Regions from separate parts of the Homo sapiens genome. Here region 1 is linked to region 2. The links are contacts of gene promoters, found by promoter capture Hi-C in human tissues and cell types (Jung and others, 2019). All regions are on one chromosome and are shown on one strand. The core of a region is centred on a gene start or on the middle of the fragment in contact, and the rest is flanking DNA. Distances in the headings are between cores, read along the strand shown. Region 1 has its middle 10 kb from the start of ZBTB3. Region 2 holds the start of NXF1 (nuclear RNA export factor 1).

Region 1 (5,796 bases), core at 3,157-5,656, 63 kb after region 2:
CCTTTTGCCAGTTGTTATCAAACCTCCACTTGAGGCCGGGAATGGCACCTCACACCTAGAATTCCAGCACTCTGGGAGGCCGAGGTGGACAGATTATTGGGAGGTCAGGAGTTCAAGACCAGCCTGGCCAAGATGGTGAAACCCTGTCTCTACTAAAAATACAAAAATTAGGCAGGCATGTCAGTGTGCACACACCTGTGGTCCCAGCTAATTGCTTGGCGGCCAAGCCAGGAGAATTGCTTGAACCTGGGAGGCAGAGGTTGTAGCAAGCCAAGATCACACCACTGCATTCCAGCCTGGGGAACAGAGCGAGACTCCATCTCAAAAAACAAAAAACAAACAAAAAAAAAACAACCAGGCCAGGCACGGTGGCTCACACCTGTAATCCCAGCACTTTGGGAGGCTCAGTCTGGTGGATCACAAGGTCAGGAGTTCAAGACCAGCCTGGCCAAGATGGTGAAACCTCATCTCTACTAAAAATACAAAAATTAGCCGGGAGTGCTGGCGGGCACCTGTAATCCTAGCTACTCAGGAGGCTGGGGCAGGAGAATCGCTTGAACCTGCGAGGCGGAGGTTGCAGTGAGCTGAGATCGTGCCACTGTACTCAAGCCTGGGCTACAGAGCGAGACTCTGTCTCAAAAAAAAAAAAAAAAACCTCGGCCTGGCGTGGTGGCTCACGCCTGTAATCCCAGCACTTTGGGAGGCCGAGGCAGGCGGATCACAAGGTCAGGAGATCGAGACAATCCTGGCTAACACGGTGAAACCCCGTCTCTACTAAAAATGCAAAAAGTTAGCCAGGCGTGGTGGCGGGAGCCTGTAGTCCCAGCTACTCAGGAGGCTGAGGCAGGAGAATGGAGTGAACCTGGGAGGCGGAGCTTGCAGTGAGCCGAGATCACGCCACTGCACTCCAGTCTGGGCGACAGAGCGAGACTCTGTCTCAAAAAAAAAAAAAAAAAACCCAAAAAACTCTTTCCCAAAGGAAACCTATTGTTGGTGTCCTAGTTGTTGGATTTCCTTAGACTGAGCCAAAATCTGTCTCCCTTTATAGGAGTATGGACCAGGCCCCAGCCTATTAAGTTTCATACTGAAAATGTGTGCTTGTGAGCTATAAACTGACTTAGTTTTCTTTTTTCTTTTCTTTTTTTTTTTTTTTTTGAGACGGAGTCTAGCTCCGTAGCCCAGGCTGGAGTGCAGGGGCGTGATCTCGGCTCACTGTAAGCTCCGCCTCCTGAGTTCACGCCATTCTCCTGCCTCAGCTTCCCGAGTAGCTGGGATTACAGGCGTGTGCCACCACGCCTGACTAATTTTTTGTATTTTTTGTAGAGACGGGGTTTCACCGTGTTAGCCAGGATGGTCTCGATCTCCTGATCTCGTGATCTGCCCGCCTTGGCCTCCCAAAGTGCTGGGATTACAGGCGTGAGCCACCGCACCCGGCCACTTATTTTAGTTTTTCGAGATGGGGTCTATGTTGCCCAGGGTGCTCTTGAACTCCTAGGCTCAAGTGATTCTCCCACTTCAGACTCCTGAGTTTTTTTGTGTATTGGGTCAAGTGATATGAAGTGCTGTACAGTGCCCTGTACAATTTCATCAGCAAGCAATTTCAGCAGACTAAATACTATTATCACACTCAAGAAAACTGACAATAATTCTTTTTTTTTTTTTTTTTTTGAGACAGAGTCTTGCTCGGTCGCCCAGGCTGGAGTGCAGTGGTGTGATCTCGGCTCACTGCAAGCTCTGCCTCCCGGGCTCACACCATTCTCCTGCCTCAGCCTCCCAAGTAGCTGGGACTACAGGCGCCCGCCACCACGCCTAGCTCATTTTTTTTCTATTTTTAGTAGAGACGGTGTTTCACTGTGTTAGCCAGGATGGTCTGGATCTTCTGACCTCGTGATCCACCCGCCTCGGCCTCCCAAAGTGTTGGGATTACAGGCGTAAGCCAACGCACCCGGCCTTTTTTTTTTTTTTTTAGATAAGAGTTTTGCTCTTGCCCAGGCTGGAGTGCAGTTGCGCCATCTCGGCTCACCGCAACCTCCACCTCCCGGGTTCAAGCGATTCTCCTGCCTCAGTCTCCCGAGTAGCTGGAATTACAGGCGTCCGCCAACACATCCCGCTAATTCTGTATTTTCAGTACAGTCAGGGTTACACCGTGTTAGCCAGGATGGTCTCGATCTCTTGACCTTGGAATCCGCCCGCCTCAGCCTCCCAAAGTGCTGGGATTACAGGCATGAGCCACCACCCCTGGCTCCGACAATTATTTATTTATTTATTTATTTTTTGAGATGGAGTCTCGCTCTGTCACCCAGGCTGGAGTGCAGTGGCGCGATCTCGGCTCACTGCAAGCTCTGCCTCCCGGGTTCAAGCCATTCTCCTGCCTCAGCCTCCCAAGTAGCTGGGACTACAGGCGCCCCGCCACCACGCCCGGCTAATTTTTTTGTGTGTATTTTTAGTACAGACGGGGTTTCACCGTGGTCTCCATCTCCTGACCTTGTGATCCGCCCGCCTGGGCCTCCCAAAGTGCTGGGATTACAGGTGTGAGCCACCGCACCCGGCCCTGACAATAATTCTTACTCAAGTTTCTCTTTTTCCCAATGAGAATCCAATTAGAATCCAAAGTAGTGTCATGCATTTATTTGATTGATGTCTCTTAACTGTCTTTTTCTTTTTGAGACAGGGTCTCACTCTGTTGCCCAGGCTTCAGTGCAGTGGCACAATTTTAGCTCACTGCAACCTCAACCTTTTGGGCTCAAGTGATCCTCCCACCTTAGCCTCTTGAATATCTGGGATTACAGGCATGCACCCTAGTGGCAGCTAATTTTTCTATCTTTTGTAGACAGAGGGTTTTGCCATGTTGCCCACATTGGTCTCAAACTCCTGGGCTCAAAAGATCTGTCCCCTTCAGCCTCCCAAAGTTCTAGGATCATTGGCGTGCGCCACTGAACCTGGCCTTAAGTTTTACTAGGTTTCCCTTCCCTTTTTCCTTGCAATTTATTTGTTGAAGAAGCTGGGGTTGTTTTACGGGTTGAGGGTCTGGAGTTTGCTGCTTACATCCCCGTAGTTTCATTTAACATATTCCTCTGTCCAAAGGTTCCTTTAAAAATATTTATTTAGGGCCAGGCAAGGTGCTTCAAGCTGTAATCCCAGCTACTCAAGAGGTTGATGCAGGAGGATCCCTTGAGCCCAGGAGTTCAAGGCTATGATCACACCACTGCACTCCAGTCTGGGCTACAGAGCAAGACCCTGTCTCTAAAAAAAAAAAAAAAAAAAAAAAATAGGCCGGGGGTGGTGGCTCATGCCTGTAATCCTGGCACTTTGGGAGGCTGAGGTGGGCAGATCATGAGGTCAAGAGATCCAGACCATCCTGGCCAAGATGGTGAAACCCCTTCTCTACTAAAGACAAAAATTAGCTGGACATGGTGGTGGGTGCCTGTAGTCCCAGCTACTTGGGAGGCTGACACAGCAGAATCGCTTGAACCCAGGAGGCAGAGGTTGCAATGAGCCGAGATCGCACCACTGCACTCTAGCCTGGCAACAGAGTGAGACTCCGTCTCAAAAAAAAAAAAAAAAAAAAAAATACACTGGGCTCCATGGCTCACGCCTATAATCCCAGAACTTTAGGAGGCCGAGGTGGGTGGATCACCTGAAGTCAGGAGTTTGAAACCAGCCTGACCAACATGGTGAAACCCCGTATCTACTAAAAATACAAAAAGAATTTAGCCAGGCATGGTGGTGCATGCTACTTGGAAGGCTGAGGCAGAATTGCTTGAACCTGGGATGTGGAAGTTGCAGTGAGCCAAGATTGTGCCACTGCACTGCAGCCTGGGCAGCAGAGCCAGACTGTCTATATATATATATATACACACACACATATATTTCTACACACATCCATATATATTAGTACAGGTAGTGAGTGGTTTTGGCAACATTGTGAAGGTGGTGGGTATGAGTTTGGGAAACAGTGTCCCTCATGTGCCAAGGTATATAATCCTTCACATTCACCATGAATGCTTTTTCTTCATTCAAAATATTCAAATCCTCTGTGGAAACAAGGACTGATAAAGTGCGCAGCCTCTCCTTCCACAAACTTCTGAATACAGAGGTTGAGGCACTCTCTGGCTGGTTCCCTCAGGACCTTGAGGACGTCCTCAAGACCTGCATCAGACTGCCTTTGTCATTTCCCTGTTCATTAAGATTTCCATTAGGAGCTGGGCTTCTCAATAAAACACAAATGTAAGCCTGACCCTGTGCTATCTCTTAGCAGCGCTAATAAAAGGATTAGTGCAACAATTTTTTTTTTTTTTTTGAGACAGAGTCTTGCTATGTCGCCCAGGCTGGAGTGCAGTGGCGCAATCTCGGCTCACTGCAAGCTCTGCCTCCCGGGTTCATGCCATTCTCCTGCCTCAGCCTCCCGAGTAGCTGGGACTACAGGTGCCCGCCACCACGCCCGGCTAATTTTTTGTATTTTTAGCAGAGATGGGGTTTCACTGTGTTAGCTAGGATGGTCTCGATCTCCTGACCTTGTGATCCACCCGCCTCAGCCTCCCAAAGTGCTGGGATTACAGGCGTGAGCCACCGCGCCTGGCCACTGCACCAAATTTCTAAAATGCATTTTTAAATATCAGTTTTATTTTTTCCTCATTGATGCAGAAGATAGCTTACTATAACATCAAGTGTTTGAAATAAAATAAGACCACGAAACCATTGTAAAGCAAATAAAACATGCAATCATGACAATATTTTGTCAATAAACCAAGGCCTAGCAATTTAAGAAGCTTAGAAGAGGAATAAGGTATTTTACTTTTGTTTGTTCTGTCCTTGGACTTGATTGATTGATTGATTGATTGAGACGGTTTTGCTCTGGTTGACCAGGCTGGCGTGTAATGGCATGACCTTGGCTCACTGCATCCTCCACCTCCTGGGCTCAAACAATTCTCCTGCCTCAGCCTCCTGAGTAGCTGGGATTACAGGCACGTGCCACTACACCTGGCTAATTTTGTATTTTTTTTAGTAGCGATGGGGTTTCATTATGTCAGTCAGGCTGGTCTCGAACTCCTGACCTCAGGTGATCCACCCACCTTGGCCTCCCAAATTGCTGGAATTGCAGGGGTGAGCCACTGCGCCTCTCCTGTCCTTGGACTTAGGAAAAGTTTTTCTTGTAAGCTGATAGTTGTATTCTTTAAAGGTATAGGGAAGAACAAAGAGGAGTCTAGCCCATTGAGAAAGGGGGCGTTATTGATAAAGGACTAAAGTGTGTTTTTTTTTCCCTGAAATCTGTTTGCTCTGTGGTTGTATGACAGTTAATCACATGCTTATTGCCACCACTTATAAAGGTAGAGGCTGTGCTATATAGTCTCACCTATGTAGTACCCACAACATCATAGACATTATCCACCATGAAAAAACAGAAACAGAATAACAAAGGGGCTCCTGGTTGATGGAACCTCCTACTGAGCCAGGACTGCACCATACTGCAACTTGCACCCATGTCCAACACAGCTTCCAGAGAGTTCTATCAGGTGTTTAAAAGGCACTAAGCAAGAAATGCCCTTCCTCATTTTTTTTTTGTTTTGTTTTTTGAGATGGAGTTTCACTCTTGTTGCCCAGGCTGGAGTGCAGTGGCATGCAATCTCTGCTTACTGCAACCTCCGCCTCCTGCGTTTCAAGCGATTCTCCTGTCTCAGCCTCCTGAGTAGCTGGGGTTACAGAGTGCACACCACCACACCTGGTTATTTTTTTCTATTTTTAGTAGAGATGGGGTTTCACCATGTTGACCAGGCTGGTCTCAAACTCCTGACCTCA
Region 2 (6,053 bases), core at 3,514-6,013:
CCCAAAGTGCTGGGATTACAGGCGTTGGCCAGATCTGGCCACCAATTGTTAACATTTTGTCACTTTTTTTCTTTTTCTTTCTTTTTTTTTTTTTTTTTTGAGATGGAGTCTTGCTCTGTCACCCAGGTTGGAGTGCAGTGGTGCGAGATCTCAGCTCACTGCAATCTCCGCCTCCCGGGTTCAAGTGGTTCTCCTGCCTCAGCCTCCTGAGTAGCTGGGGTTACAGGTGCACGTCACCACATCCAGCTAATTTTTGTATTTTTAGTAGAGACAGGTTTTCACTATGTTGGTCAGGCGGGTCTCAAACCCCTGAACTTGTGATCCGCCCACCTCAGCCTCCCAGAGTGCTGGGATTATCGGCGTGAGCCACCACATTCAGCCTTTCCCCTCTTTCTTTTGCCGAATTATTTGAAAGTAGGTGCAAATTTCATGCTGTTTTATTCCTAGATACTACAGCATGCTAATAATAAGGCATTCTCCTGAACAGCCATAATGTCTTTTTTTTTTTTTTTTTTTTTTTTTTTTTTTTGAGACAGAGTCTTGCTCTGTTTCCCAGGCTGGAGTGCAATGGTGCGATCTCCACTCACTGCAAGCTCTGCCTCCCAGGTTCACACCATTCTCCTGCCTCAGCCTCCTGAGTAGCTGGGACTACAGGCGCCCGCCACCACGCCTGGCTAATTTTTTGTATTTTTAGTAGAGACGGGGTTTCACCGTGTTAGCCAGGATGGTCTCCATCTCCTGACCTCGTGATGCACCCACCTCGGCCTCCCAAAGTGCTGGGATTACAGGTGTGAGCCACCACGCCCTGCCCATAATGTCATTTTCAAACTAAGAAAATTAACAGTTCTCCAACATGATCCAGTAATCAGCCCATGTTCAAGTTTCCCCATCTGATTTTTTTTTTTTTTTTTTTTTGAGACGGAGTCTCGCTCTGTCACCCAGGCTGGAGTGCAGTGGCACGATCTCGGCTCACTGCAAGCTCCACCTCCTGGGTTCAAGCCATTCTCCTGCCTCAGCCTCCCGAATAGCCGGGACTACAGGTGCCCGCCACCATGCCCGGCTAATTTTTTGTATTTTTAGTAGAGACAGTGTTTCACCATGTTAGCCTGAATGGTCTCAATCTCCTGACTTCGTGATCGGCCTGCCTCGGCCTCCCAAAGTGCTGGGATTACAGGTGTGAGCCACCATGTCCGGCCCCCATTTGATATTTAAAACAAAAGTTTTTATCTTTTTTCTTTCAATTTAAGACCCAGGAAGATTCACATTTTGTATTTGATGTGTGTCTTCAGTGGGCCTTTTGTTTTATTTTTCATGACATCAACTTGTTTTGTTCAATGTTAAATTAAATCTAACACTGATTAAATTAGTGCTGCGATGATTACATTAGTAGGCACTTGATGAGGTTATCCCTTTTATTGCTGATGTCAATTTAATCACTTGTTCAAGGTGCTAACTATCAGATTAAGCACACTCATCCCTTGGTATTGTGGGGCATTGGCTCCAAGAGCCCCAGAGGAAACCAAAATCCATGCATCCGCAAGTCCCATAAAATCTTGTCATATTTGCATGTAATCTACTCACATCCTCCAATATACTTATTTATTATTATTTTTTTAGTAGAGACAAGTGTCTTACCATGTTGTTCAAGCTGGTCTCCAACTCCTAGGCTCAAGTGATCCTCCTGCCTGGGCCTACCAAAGTGCTGGGATTACAGCCTGGCCAAAACTAGGGTCCATATACCTTTTTTTTTGGTGTTTTTTTTTTTTTTTCCCCCTGAGGCAGTCTTGCTATGTCACCCATGCTGGAGTGCAGTGGCACAATCTCACTGCAGCATCAAGCTCCTCAACCTCCTGGGTTCAAGCTATCCTCCCACCTCAGCCTCCCGAGTAGCTGGGACTGTAGGGTCACACCAGCACACCCAGCTAATTTTTGTATTTTTTGCAGAGATGGGGTTTTGCCATGTTGCCTAGGCTGGTCTCAAACTCGTGAGCTCAAGCCATCTGCCCACCTCAGCCTCCCAAAGTGCTGGGATTACTGGCCTGAGCCACCATGGTTGGCCATAGAGCTTTTTTTATCCCCTGATTTCCTGTCCGTGTCATTATGTTTTCCTTTTTCACTCAGAACCATGATTTCCTGACTGCAATGGTCTGTGAACATTTTTCCCCTTACAATAAATATAATACATACTCACCAGATAAAAATGTAAATACTGATGAGGAAAAATTGTAACTAACATTTTCGGGGCTCTTGTGGGTTAGGGACTTTATACTAACTCATTGAAGACAGACAGTAGCCTGAGAGAAGGTAGGGTTTGGGTTATCCTCATTTTGCCGGTGAGGAAAATGAAGCTTGAAGTTAGACTAACTTAGAGTCTTAAGCTAATAAATGGCAGAGTTGGTTTTCAAACCAGAAATAACTTGTTTATAGTACCCTTCCAAAGCCTTTTCTATACACAAATATATATAAGAATGGGATCATATTGTGACCATCTTTCCATGTCAATAAATGGACTTCAACAGCATTCTTTTTAATCCAGTGTCCTTTTGTTTCCTCTTCTCCCGGCCTTGTCCCCAGGATCGACGAGAACGTGCTAGGAGCCCAGCTGGACGTTGAGGCCGCCCATTCAGAGATCCTCAAGTACTTCCAGTCTGTCACCTCCAACCGGTGGCTCATGGTCAAAATCTTCCTCATCCTCATTGTCTTCTTCATCATCTTTGTGGTCTTCCTTGCTTGAACCCTCTCTACTCTGAGGCACTCTGTTGGGGTTTGGGACCCTCCTGGGAAGGCAAGTGGCCAGTGCTGCCACTGAGCCTGTGCAGGGTACTTGGGAGAAAGGCCCTGTTTCCCTGGAACTGCTAAGAATGACCACTGCCCCTGATCCCCCACCCCTTGCCTCTGGCCACCCTGTCCTCCCCCCACCACCCTCAGGCCTATGAAACACACAGGGTTCTAGATTTGAACTCTGCTGTGAAGTGACTGGAAGGGAGCAGAGGCCAGCTGGGGGCCAGTGGGGGAGGTTGTTTCCACTAGGAGATTTTTATAAACCCTCTCCAGCCTCTCCCAAAGGAAGCGTTGGCAGCAAAGGGAGATGATGCCCTTACCCACCTTCCTGTGAGTGAAGAGAGGAAGCAGCCCCAGGGACCAATTTTCCCAATTGACCTCTTTCTTCCTCTTTCACCATGTGAGGCAGGGAGCCCTGAGCCCTTCAGCTGCCTGCACAACCCCTGACATTGGCTGCTGGTGACTCAATCTGCCAAATGTGCTGCAGCTCGTTTTCTCCCAATTACAGCAAGACTGTCAGCCTCACTAGCCATGTCATCATTTCTGGGTGGGAGCGTCGAAGGGCCTAGGCAGCGAGTGGAGAGAGCCCACTGCCCAGTACCAGAACTGAAAGGGTTGGGCTAATGGCTCTGCCAGGTATCACTGCTGACACAGGCTATTTTGGGCTCTGACACACAGCTGCCTCTAGGCAGGGGAGAACCAAGTGTTGCAACACTTCATTAGCGTGGAAACTTCCTTTCACACAGGGGAGCAGGATCCCAGAGGGGGTCCCTGATTGGGGGCAACTTCCAGGACTATCTCAAGCAGTGTTTGGACCTGTTTCATCTGTATCCTCCAACTATTTGGCCGTAATTCTTCCTTGAGCTAAGCGAGGCAGAAGCTCTGCCTGCTTCCAGGAGTGGAAGGTGAAGAATTTGTTCCCAACTCCAGTTGAGGCTTTTGATTCCCTCCAAGCACTTCACCAAATCAAAGCCAGTCACAGAGAATGGAGACACCTGCCCAGAATACCCACCGTCCAGGGAGATTAGTGTGCTTTGTTCTTCCTGACCGAGACTCACAACCACATTCTGAGGTCACTCGAGTGCCCCTGTCTCATACATTCCAAAGGAAGTTGAAGCTATAGAGACAACAGTCAGGGGCTGGTGGTGGTGCTTTTGGGGGTCTAGGAGAGCCCAAGGCCCTGATATTTTAAAATGTCCTCCTCGGCATCTCCAGCAAGTTGCCACTGCTGGTGAGCTTCACTGTCTGCCCCGTTGACACGATGGGTTTCTAGTAGGGGACGCCATTGATGGAAGGTCTGTGAAGACAATGCTCGCCAAACCCCTGACAGATGTCGTATCATTTGACTCAGCAACTCAGGGCGGGGCGGGGTGGGGGAAATTCATAACACAAATTCATTTATTTCACAAATATATGTTGAGTTTTTACCATGTGCCAGGCATAGTACCTGCCGAGTCAAGCCCTCGAGGAAAAAAAGCCCTTAATTAGTCAACGTTCGAGCTCACATTCTAATTCTCAACTTCGTGATTTGTTAATCCATCTTATAGGCGAAGAAAGCGAGGTATAGACAAGGAGCCGAGCTGAAACACTGGCTAGATTCCGGTAGGGGTCTGAGCCATCACTCCCACCTGGAGGCGCGGTCTCCATTCCTCTGAAGCCCTTTGTGCGGCCCCCTTCCTCACTGAGTTCTGGGCTGCGGCGGCAGCACTGTGCTCTAGCACTAACTCTGAAGCTGCCAGGGCAGCGTCAGCGGACAGATGAAAAGGTGCGGGGACATGCTGGCTGCCAGCCGGGGTTCCGCAAGTTCAGGTCTTGGGCGGGGCGTGGAGGGCCAGGCCCCGCCCCTCGAACGACGGCCTTAAGTGTGCGCACGCGCAGGGGGCCGCGCTTTCTCCGGGCGGCGGCACCGCCCACAGCCTGGGACGTCAGCGGCGCGCGACGTGCTTTGCTGTATAAATGCGGTGGCGCCCGGCGTAGGGACACTTCGGTCCTGAGCGCTTGGGAGTTAGGTTGTTTGCCGGCGTAGCGGCCAGCGCCTGAGCCCGCCCTTGATCTTCGCTGTGGCATGGCGGACGAGGGGAAGTCGTACAGCGGTAAGTGCTGGTCTTCGGGTCGGGAACTGGCTATCTGGGGCGCGGGTGGGCGGCGCCGGCCTAGGCCTCAGCCCCCGGGGCGTGAGGCCGCTAGGGGCCCGGCGTCCGCGGGGAGCGGCGCGCGGGGGGCCGGGCACTCGAGGTGGACACCCGAGTTGTTGACTCCTGGATTCCTGCTGGCATCCTGGTGTTGGGGGACCTGCGGCTCGGAGCGGATGGCTCGGGGGTAGGGTGACGGGATTCCTTTGAACTTTGTGGGTGGTTGATGCCTGTCAGTTAGGTTTGGCGGCCTGACTCTTCCTTTAATGTGAGTGAGTGCCCTGCTCGTGGGCTGCCCTGATGCCCTATTTTTTACTGCGTCCAGTCGGTCTTGAACTCTCGGGCCTGGGCTTTGGCTTAATATTCGAGACTTACACATCAACTGGATATTCTAGTCTGAACACTACACTGGGTGTTAGTTCTTTGTAGTAAGTTAGGAGTGCGTGGTGGAGGTTGAAACCGTGAATTTAAAACTCTCGTTTTCCACCCCCTTAATGTGGAATAACAACAGCATTTCTTAAGAGTGTGTGTGGGGAGGGGAAATGAGATCATTCCTATCAAGTGCCTGAAGCATAGTGGCCGGCACTGGAGAAAGTTCTCAGTGAATGTTAGCTGCGCCTTCTATGTTCTTTTTTCCTAGGGTCATTTGTTGAGATTCATTGTTTACAGAGTGCTGGGTATTAGGCAGACCTCTTTTGGGAGTTAGGGACCTTTTTTAAGACGCCAGTCCTACACAGCATGAATCAGAAGGTCATCTTCCTGGAGAGCATTCCAGGGTCCCTGGTTAAGCACCCTAGCCTGGCACTGCCACTAGAGCCTGAGTCTAGAATTTGTCTCCTGAGTTAAAGGACATTTCTGGCCATGGAAACGAAGAGCTCCTCACAAAACTTCAAAGTGGCAGTTTGAGAACAAGGAGAATTTTTAGAGGATCCTTAAACTGGTCATATTTGTAACTGGCGTCTGCACTGTATAGACAAAGTACTGAGTGGCAGATTTCAGGTGGCTTTCAGAGGTCTGATTTGTGTTCAGTTACACTTTTGGGTCTCACATTTCTACATCCTGCTTCTCTCTAATTCCAGTTTCTACTTCATTTTTCAAAAGCCCTACACAGTTTTCCAGTAACTTTTCCCTGATGCTGCC

What was found. The method cuts DNA at HindIII sites, captures the fragments that hold promoters and counts their contacts. A contact is called where the count stands out against the background at its distance.
Region 1: a contact is called between a fragment that was not itself captured here and the fragment with the promoter of NXF1 in region 2, in 1 of the 25 tissues and cell types used here (stomach).

The regions. Positions count from the first base shown.
Region 1 is chr11:62,741,081-62,746,876 of GRCh38, reverse strand. No RefSeq gene overlaps it. Among named protein-coding and RNA genes, the nearest start is that of ZBTB3, 10 kb to the left of the region's middle. The HindIII fragment of the contact is 7,631 bases long and covers 591-5,796 here.
Region 2 is chr11:62,804,150-62,810,202 of GRCh38, reverse strand. It overlaps NXF1 (nuclear RNA export factor 1), which reads left to right and starts at 4,763. Exons shown (of 21, transcript NM_006362.5): 1 at 4,763-4,874. The coding sequence starts at 4,847. STX5 (syntaxin 5) reads left to right here. Exons shown (of 11, transcript NM_003164.5): 11 at 2,575-3,343. The coding sequence ends at 2,734. RefSeq lists enhancers at 4,245-4,294, 4,315-4,504, 4,471-4,970. The HindIII fragment of the contact is 17,631 bases long and covers 1-6,053 here.